Linked DNA regions of Homo sapiens: region 2 is linked to region 1. Evidence: promoter capture Hi-C in 16 types of primary human blood cells and fetal thymus (Javierre and others, 2016). All regions are on one chromosome and are shown on one strand. The core of a region is centred on a gene start or on the middle of the fragment in contact, and the rest is flanking DNA. Distances in the headings are between cores, read along the strand shown. Region 1 holds the start of CLNS1A (chloride nucleotide-sensitive channel 1A). Region 2 holds the start of KCTD21 (potassium channel tetramerization domain containing 21).

Region 1 (3,719 bases), core at 809-3,308:
CTCTATGTCCTATGCATCCTTTGGCAAGGGACTCCATGTATTAGTCTTTCTCTCTTTGTTTTTTTTTTTTTTTTTTTTTTTTTTTGAGACAGTGTTTCGCTCTTGTTGCCCAGGCTGGAGTGCAATGGCGTGATCTCGGCTCACCGCAACCTCCGCCTCCCGGGTTCAAGCAATTCTCCTGCCTCAGCCTCCCGAGTAGCTAGGATTACAGGCATGCGCCACCACGCCAGGCTAATTGTGCATTTTTAGTAGAGACGGGGTTTCTCCATGTTGGTCAGGCTGGTCTCGAATTCCCGACGTCAGGTGATCCGTCCGCCTCGGCCTCCAAAATGCTGGGATTACAGGCGTGAGCCATTGCCACCGGTGTATTACTCTTTCTCTATTGCAATTCCCCTGTCTTGATAAATAGGCTCTGTCTAAGCAGCAGGCACGGTGATCCCATTGGGCAGTTACAACAGGGTTGTATGTAACTGGGTTACAGGGTTGTAACAGGGTTGCTGCTGTAATGGCCCAATGGGTTCACCTTGCCTGTTGCCTAGACAGAGCTGATTTATCAAGATGGAAATTGTAACAGAAAAACAGTAATTCACGCAGAGCTGCTGTGCAGGAGACTAGAGTTTGTTGTTGTTGTTTTGAGACGGAGTCTCTCTCTGTCGCCCAGGCTGGAGTGCCAAGGCGCGACCTCGGCTCACTGCAAGCTCCGCCTCTCGGGTTCACGCCATTCTCCCGCTTCAACCTCCCGAGTAGCTGGGACTACAGGCACCTGCCACCACGCCCGGCTAATTTTGTTTTTGTATTTTTAGTCGAGACGGGGTTTCACCGTGTTAGCCAGGCTGGTCTCGATCTCCTGTCCTCGTGATCTGCCCGCCTCGGCCTCCCAAAGTGCTGGGATTACAAGCATGAGCCACTGCACCCGGCCTAGAGTTTTATTTTTACTCAAATCAGTTTCCCAGAGCATTCAGGGATCAAAGTTTTTTTGTTTTTTGTTTTTTGTTGTTTTTTTTTTTTTTTTGAGACGGGGTCTCGCTCTGTCGCCCAGGCTGGAGTGCAGTGGCGCTATCTCGGCTCACTGCAAGCTCTGCCTCCCGGGTTCACGCCATTCTCCTGCCTCAGCCTCCCCAGTAGCTGGGACCACAGGCGCCTGCCACCACACCCGGCTAATTTTTTTGTATTTTTAGTAGAGACGGGGTTTCACCATGTTAGCCAGAATGGTCTTGATCTCCTGACCTCGTGATCCGCCCGCCTCGGCCTCCCAAAGTGCTGGGATTACAGGCGTGAGCCACCGCGCCCAGCCAGGGATCCAAGTTTTTAAGGATAATTTGGCAGGTTGGGGAAGGCCAGTGAGTCAAGAGTGCTGATTGGTTGGGTGGGAGATGAAGTCACAGGGAGTTGAAGCTGTCCTCTTGCGCTGAGTCAGTTCCTGGGTTGGTGGGGAGGGGGCACAAGATCACATAGCCAGTTTATCCATCTGGTGGTGCCAGCTGATCCATCAAGTGCAGGGTCTGCAACATATCTCAAGCACCGATCTTAGGTGCAGTTTAGGGAGGGTCAGAATCTTGTAGCTTGCAGCTGTAATTTCTAATCTAAACCATAATTTCTAATCTTGTGGCTGATTTGTTAGTCCTACAAAGGCAGTCCAGTCCCCAGGCAAGAAGGAAGTTTGTTTTGGGAAAAGGCTGTCATCATCTTTGTTTTAAACTTCAAACTGTAAACTAAGTTCCTCCCAAAGTTAGTTCAGCCTATATCCAGCAATGAACAAGGACAGTTTGGAGGTTAGAAACAACATGGATTTGGGTAGGTCAGATCGCTTTCAGTGTCTCAGTTATAATTTTGCAGTGGTGGTTTCACTGTGACAATCCTGAGGGACTTCCCACAGAACCCTCAGTTATTGAAGCCCAAAGCCTCAGAAATGGCGAGGAAGAAGGGGAAGGGTGTTGCGCGGTCAAACTCCACACGTTCTTAGCCGACCTCCGCCGCTTTTCCTAGAATGTCTCATCTCTATGGTCGACGGCGTTCAGATTCCGGGGCAGACTAAGTTGTTCTTCCGGGGTGACTGCCTCTTCCAGGGCGGGCGGTGTGGTGCACGCATTGCTGTGCTCCAACTCCCTCAGGGCCTGTGTTGCCGCACTCTGCTGCTATGAGCTTCCTCAAAAGTTTCCCGCCGCCTGGGCCAGCGGAGGGGCTCCTGCGGCAGCAGCCAGACACTGAGGCTGTGCTGAACGGGAAGGGCCTCGGCACTGGTACCCTTTACATCGCTGAGAGGTAGGGTTCCTGGTCCCCAGCGCTGGCCTCCTGCGCGCCGCCCTCCTCCTTGCTGGAGCAGGCGGTGCGAAGGAGCCGGGCAAGGGGCGGCCTGGAGGCCTGCTGGGAGCGGGGTCTCGTGCCCGACGCCTCAGGGATACCTGTAGCGGGTGGAAGGCTCGATTTTTCTAGTACTCCTCCGGAGTCTTCCATTCTCTGTTTTCTCCGGCCGGAATTTCCCCTTATGGATTGTGCTTTTTTTTTTTTTTTTTCTTTTTTTCCTCTTTCTCTTTCTCTGTCTCTTTCTCTCTTTCTTTCTTCTTCTTTTCTTTCTTTCTTTCTTTTATTTTCTTTTTTTTTTTTTTTTAACTCGCCTATTTACTGGAGGTCTGGCGCGTGCGTTGCCCTTAACGCACGGTCTGGTTTTAAGGGTCTGAAGTGTGCCTGTCTTTCCGGATGAACAGATGCAGGAGATGTTCCCCTCTCTGGGATACGTAGTTTCAGAGCCGACTGTGGAGGACTTTTAAAGTTTGGTTACACAATAAAGATTTTCTTCTGTAGGTATAGTAAGGAGAGGAACACCCTTAACTCGACACAGACAGGGGTCATATGCAGAGGGACCAGACTCCCGTTTTGGGGTCCTGGAAGGAATTGCCCTTTTATTTGGCCACGTGGAGCACTTTGGTATTTTGACAGTCAGATAGATCTACCGTAAATATTGTGGTTGTAGAACAGAGGTCCCTGTTTCCTTGACATGCAGTTTTCTTTATTTTGAAGCCTGTAATGACACATCGAATCTTTCCTGCCCTTCAGATATGTGTTGCTTCCCCTTTTGCTCCATCACTTGTCTACAGCCAGAGAAAATTCTCTACTTTTAAGAGCTCATGTGATTACTTTGGAACCACCTGTAAAATCCAGGATAATCTCCCTATGTTACTGTCGACTGGTAACCTTAATTACGTTTGTGAAGTCCCTTTTGCTGTGTAATATAACATATTCACCCGCATGACACCAGAAAGTGAAGGTCGTGGGGCCAAAATTCTGCCTACTACAGAATCCAGAGCACAAAAACTGTAAAGAACCTCTGCTTTAAAGGGAAATTTAGACATTGAACAAGGTTTAGGCTTCAGGCCAGAAACTGAGATAGGACATATGGATGGGAGGAAAAGCAAGATTGAGGTGAGAGGCAGATAATGAGTTTGGTCAGGACATGTGTGGAGTAGTTGTACATATGACCGTGTTGGGCCGGGCGCGGTGGCTCACACCTGTAATCCCAGCACTTTGGGAGGCTGAGGCAGGCAGATCGCTTGAGCCCAGGAGTTTGAGATCAGCCTGGGCAGCATGGCGAAACCCAGTCTCTACAAAAAATACAAAAATTAGCCAGGCATGGTGGCGGCCTGTAGTCCTAGCTACTCAGGAAACTGAGGTGGGAGGATCACCTGAGCCCAGGAGGTCGAGGCTGCGGTGAGCCGTGATTG
Region 2 (3,719 bases), core at 550-3,049, 550 kb before region 1:
TCACCACCCCCTCCTTTGCCCAGGCCTGGTCTTGCATATCAAAAACCCTGAAAATCTTAAACATCAGTCAAGAAAGCCCCTACAGAGGTCACTGGACTGGACTGAGGCTTTAGCCATTCTAGAAATTGTTCAAACAACCAAAGCAAAAGAAAAAGCACAAAACAAAAACAAAACAAAACAAAACAAAAATCTGTTCCTGGTTAGCCTTCAGGTCAAAAGCTCACAGAATCTCCTAGGACCTGAGAAGAAGGCTTCATGGTGTTACTCAACCTCTCCCTGCTCCAGGTCAGAGCAGCCCCTCCCAGCCTCTGCTCAGCACCTAAGAGCTGAGGAGCACATTTCCTCCCCTCTCTGACCCTCGAAGCCAGCCTCCCTCCTTTGACTCCCCTGGGAGCCAGAGCTTCCTTGGGGGTACCAGGCTGCCCCTCCCGACACCAGGTGGTGCCCTCCATCTCTGGCCCCTCAGGTGTCTGAATGGCAGCATCTCTCTAGGTATTTTTTAACTGAACTTCTACCCAAGGCAACCCTGGGAAGAAGTGCTTCACCCTACTCCGGGAGGCCCATGTCTGGGCCACCAAACTGTCTCCTGGAAAGAAAAAGAAAAAAGGGTTTCACTGGTAAAAAGCAGCTGCTCTTCCTCAAAGGATAAGGAGGAGAGAGAAGGGAAGAAAGCAGGAGCAGCTATTCCTCCTCAGGAACCCACCACACACACCTATCCCTGCGGGGCCACCCCTCACAAACCTGTGAGGGCCGCACTCCACCCCAAGCTTTCTGGAAGGAAGGGCACCAAGCTGACACATCAGGGTCTCCGGTTTGCAAGGGCCAGGGCCGTAAGAGGGGGTTGGGGAGGGTATCCCAGGGCCCAGCACACTGAGAATAGGAAAAGCCCATTCCAAGCAATGGTGGCCTCGGGCCCCCCAGTTTGTGCCACCTCCCTCCCTCCAGTGCACCCGCGCCCAGCCCACGCTTGAGCTGGAGGGCCCCACGAAAAGCCAGCAAGCGAATGTACTAGGTACTGGGTGCGAATGCCCTCTTACCTGAAAGGGGAGGGAGCAGGATCACTTCGACATACAATTGATGAAGGGAGGGGATTAATGCCCAGAGAGGAATAGCTACTCGCCCAAGGTCACACAGTGAGGCCCAGGAGGCCCAGGATGCACCCAGATCTCCCGACTCCCAGCCCTGGGCTCGCAAGTCCAGGGTTCTCGAAAGGCCAGGGTGCAGACACCGCCCCCCAAAGACAGTCACACGCCCCCAACCCCCTTACCTCCCGGACCCCGGTGGGCCAGAGCCGGCTGCTGGGCGGGGCGCTCAGGCCGGGCAGGACGAGGCTGGGCCCGGCTAGGTCAGGGCTGGTCCTCTGCTCCCCCCAGGGTGGGGACGCCCTCAGCCAGGTCCCAGACGGAAGAGATGCTGCTTCCACTGCAAAATCCAGTCTTCCCACCCCGCCTGGCACAAGCCTCTATGTATCCAGGAAGCCCGACTCTGCGGCGCGGCCCCGGGGCTGCGGGATGAAGCATGGGGAGGGGCGAGGTGCGTGAAATGGGGCGGAGCCGGAGCGGGGGCCACCCCGCGAGCTGCCACTCTGACCGCGTCCCCTTTAAGGCCAGCCGGCCGGACACCGGCGGGGACGAGGCGGGGCGCAGAGCAACTCGCTGCAATGCCTCCTGGGAGATGGAGTTCGCTCTCGACGCGCCGAGCTGCGAGGAGCCCAGAGAGAACTACCAGTCCCGGAAGGCAGCGCACAGACCCCGGACCGCCACGCCCCTGGGCTGGGCTCCTACCCTCCGCCCCCCTCGCAAAGCTGCGCTGGCCGCTCGCGGAGGGAGAGGCTGCAGAGCGAGGGCAGGAGGTGGGTGCGGCACGGCCGGGGTCGCGGGGCTCGGGGACTACCGGCGAGGGTACGTGGGCCCACTGAGCACCTGTCTTACCATGAGACTAATCTATCCCAGCCTCGCCATTCCCATCTGTGAAATGGGGATGGCATCGCCTGTGGTGCGGGGGAGGGGGCGCGTTTCGGAGCGAGGTGAGCCGAAGTGGGCAGAGCTCTTAGAGGGGCGGGGCTGTTGGGAGAGCAAGGGCGGATGGTGATAGTCGGAAAAGCCCGGATAATGAGGGTCGGGACTGTGGGAGGAGTCCTTGGTGGGTGGGGCAAGGAGAGGCGGGATCTCTAGGTGGGGGTGGGGCACTTGTCAGGTCGGAGTGGGGGCTGTAGGGCTGGGGAGTGGGTGCGGAACAAGCCGATGAGGCCAGCCTGGGTGAGATTGGGGAAGGAAGGGCGGAGACACAGATGACAGGGAACTTGCCCCGCTCTGGAGAGCCCTGGGCCGGCCGCGCTGTGGCGGCGTGGGCAAAAGCCTGTGATGCATAGAACACCTCCCTTTACTGACTGGAAATAAAGAGTCCATCCCCGAGTTCAGTGCGGCACACCAGTGATCTCATTGACCTCCCACGCCCTGAAAAGTAGAGGCGTCACTATAGCGGTTGACAGGTGAGGAATGTGAGGCTCAGAAAAGCGAAGGGACTTGCCTAAAACCACTCAGGACTCCTTACTTCAAAGACCTTGCTTTTCTCCCTGCACTCGGGGAGGCAGAGGTTTAGCTTGGCGTGGGAGGCAGGAAAGAAAAGTTTTGATGCCCCGACCTTCGCAAATTGTCTGGCAGGACCAGTCCCCCCAACCCTTCCGAATGACAGCCTGTAAGGCAGCCCTCCTATAGTACTGTGAGGATGAAATGAGATGGATTTGAAAGCACGGTGTTTATAAATTACTGTTTGGAGGAGACATAGGAAGAGAGCGGTTTGAAATGGGGTGCTGGTGCCGGAGGAAAAGCACAAGGTGAAGCGTGAGAGTGAGCCGAGAAGGTGAAGGAAAGTTCTGGAAGGGGCTGGGGGATGGTAGTGGTTGTTGGAGGTCTACGCCAGATGAAAGAATACCTTGCCGTGCCAGATTCCGTGGTCTCCTTCTTCCAGCCCACCTTTCTCTCCTCCTGCCTTTTGCGCAGCTCATTCTGGGGTCCCTGTGTCTAGGAAGCACCTTTTCTCTCCTCCCTATGGGTTGTGATGGTAATAGAGCAGCCTTCGGATTTCTTAGAGATATGGACTGGGCAAGACAGAATTATAGACGCAGCTCTTTGATGTGGGGTGGTCAGGAAGAGGAGGTGAAGAAAGGGTAGTCGTCCTAGGGGCTTCAAGGCAAAGAGTCCTTTCTCCGGTGGGGTAAGGTGGGGAAGTCTCCCACTTACTGGAAAACACAGTACTCACTCTGAGCATTGTCTTTTTTGAAATTTACCCAGCCACGTGCTGTCCATTCCCTTACGCAGTGGAAACTCTCCTTGCATTTACTCCCAAGTAATCACCTCGGCCTTGTCACATCCCTTTAGATTCCAGATTGAAAATTGAACAGAGCATTTCAAAATTAAAAAGTTTTGAAAATCCAGGTGGGGAAAATGGATCTGACTAAACAGGAGAGAAATTTCTTCCTCTTCCCCTATTCTACGTGCTTCTGTGGATATAGAAAGGGGCACCCCCAGCCCCAGCAAGGGAGCCAGGCATCCATCTACTTAAGTAAAGTTGGCTGTGGTAAGGGGTTAGACTAAAATTCTCCGCAGATGCAGAGGAGAAGGAATGAATTCCAGCTGAGAGACCTGGCCGATGCATGGGATTTGTCTTCAAGGTCCAGGCAGAGGGGATGGCAGATGCCAAATTGCAGAAGTCGAAGA

The links. Contacts are between HindIII fragments. The CHiCAGO score rates a contact against its expected background, and 5 or more counts as called.
Region 2: the fragment with the promoter of KCTD21 here is called in contact with the fragment with the promoter of CLNS1A in region 1 in 1 of 17 cell types (erythroblasts); the score reaches 5.8 in erythroblasts.

Annotation. Positions count from the first base shown.
Region 1 is chr11:77,636,133-77,639,851 of GRCh38, reverse strand. CLNS1A (chloride nucleotide-sensitive channel 1A) reads left to right here and starts at 2,058. Exons shown (of 7, transcript NM_001293.3): 1 at 2,058-2,262. The coding sequence starts at 2,138. LOC107984369 (a long non-coding RNA gene) reads right to left here and starts at 44. Exons shown (of 3, transcript XR_001748072.1): 1 at 1-44. RefSeq lists enhancers at 1,917-2,156, 1,811-2,330. The HindIII fragment of the contact is 10,516 bases long and covers 1-3,719 here.
Region 2 is chr11:78,186,706-78,190,424 of GRCh38, reverse strand. It overlaps KCTD21 (potassium channel tetramerization domain containing 21), which reads left to right and starts at 1,799. Exons shown (of 2, transcript NM_001029859.3): 1 at 1,799-1,852. USP35 (ubiquitin specific peptidase 35) reads right to left here and starts at 1,506. Exons shown (of 11, transcript NM_020798.4): 1 at 1,268-1,506. RefSeq lists silencers at 1,153-1,312, 1,743-2,082. The HindIII fragment of the contact is 4,363 bases long and covers 770-3,719 here.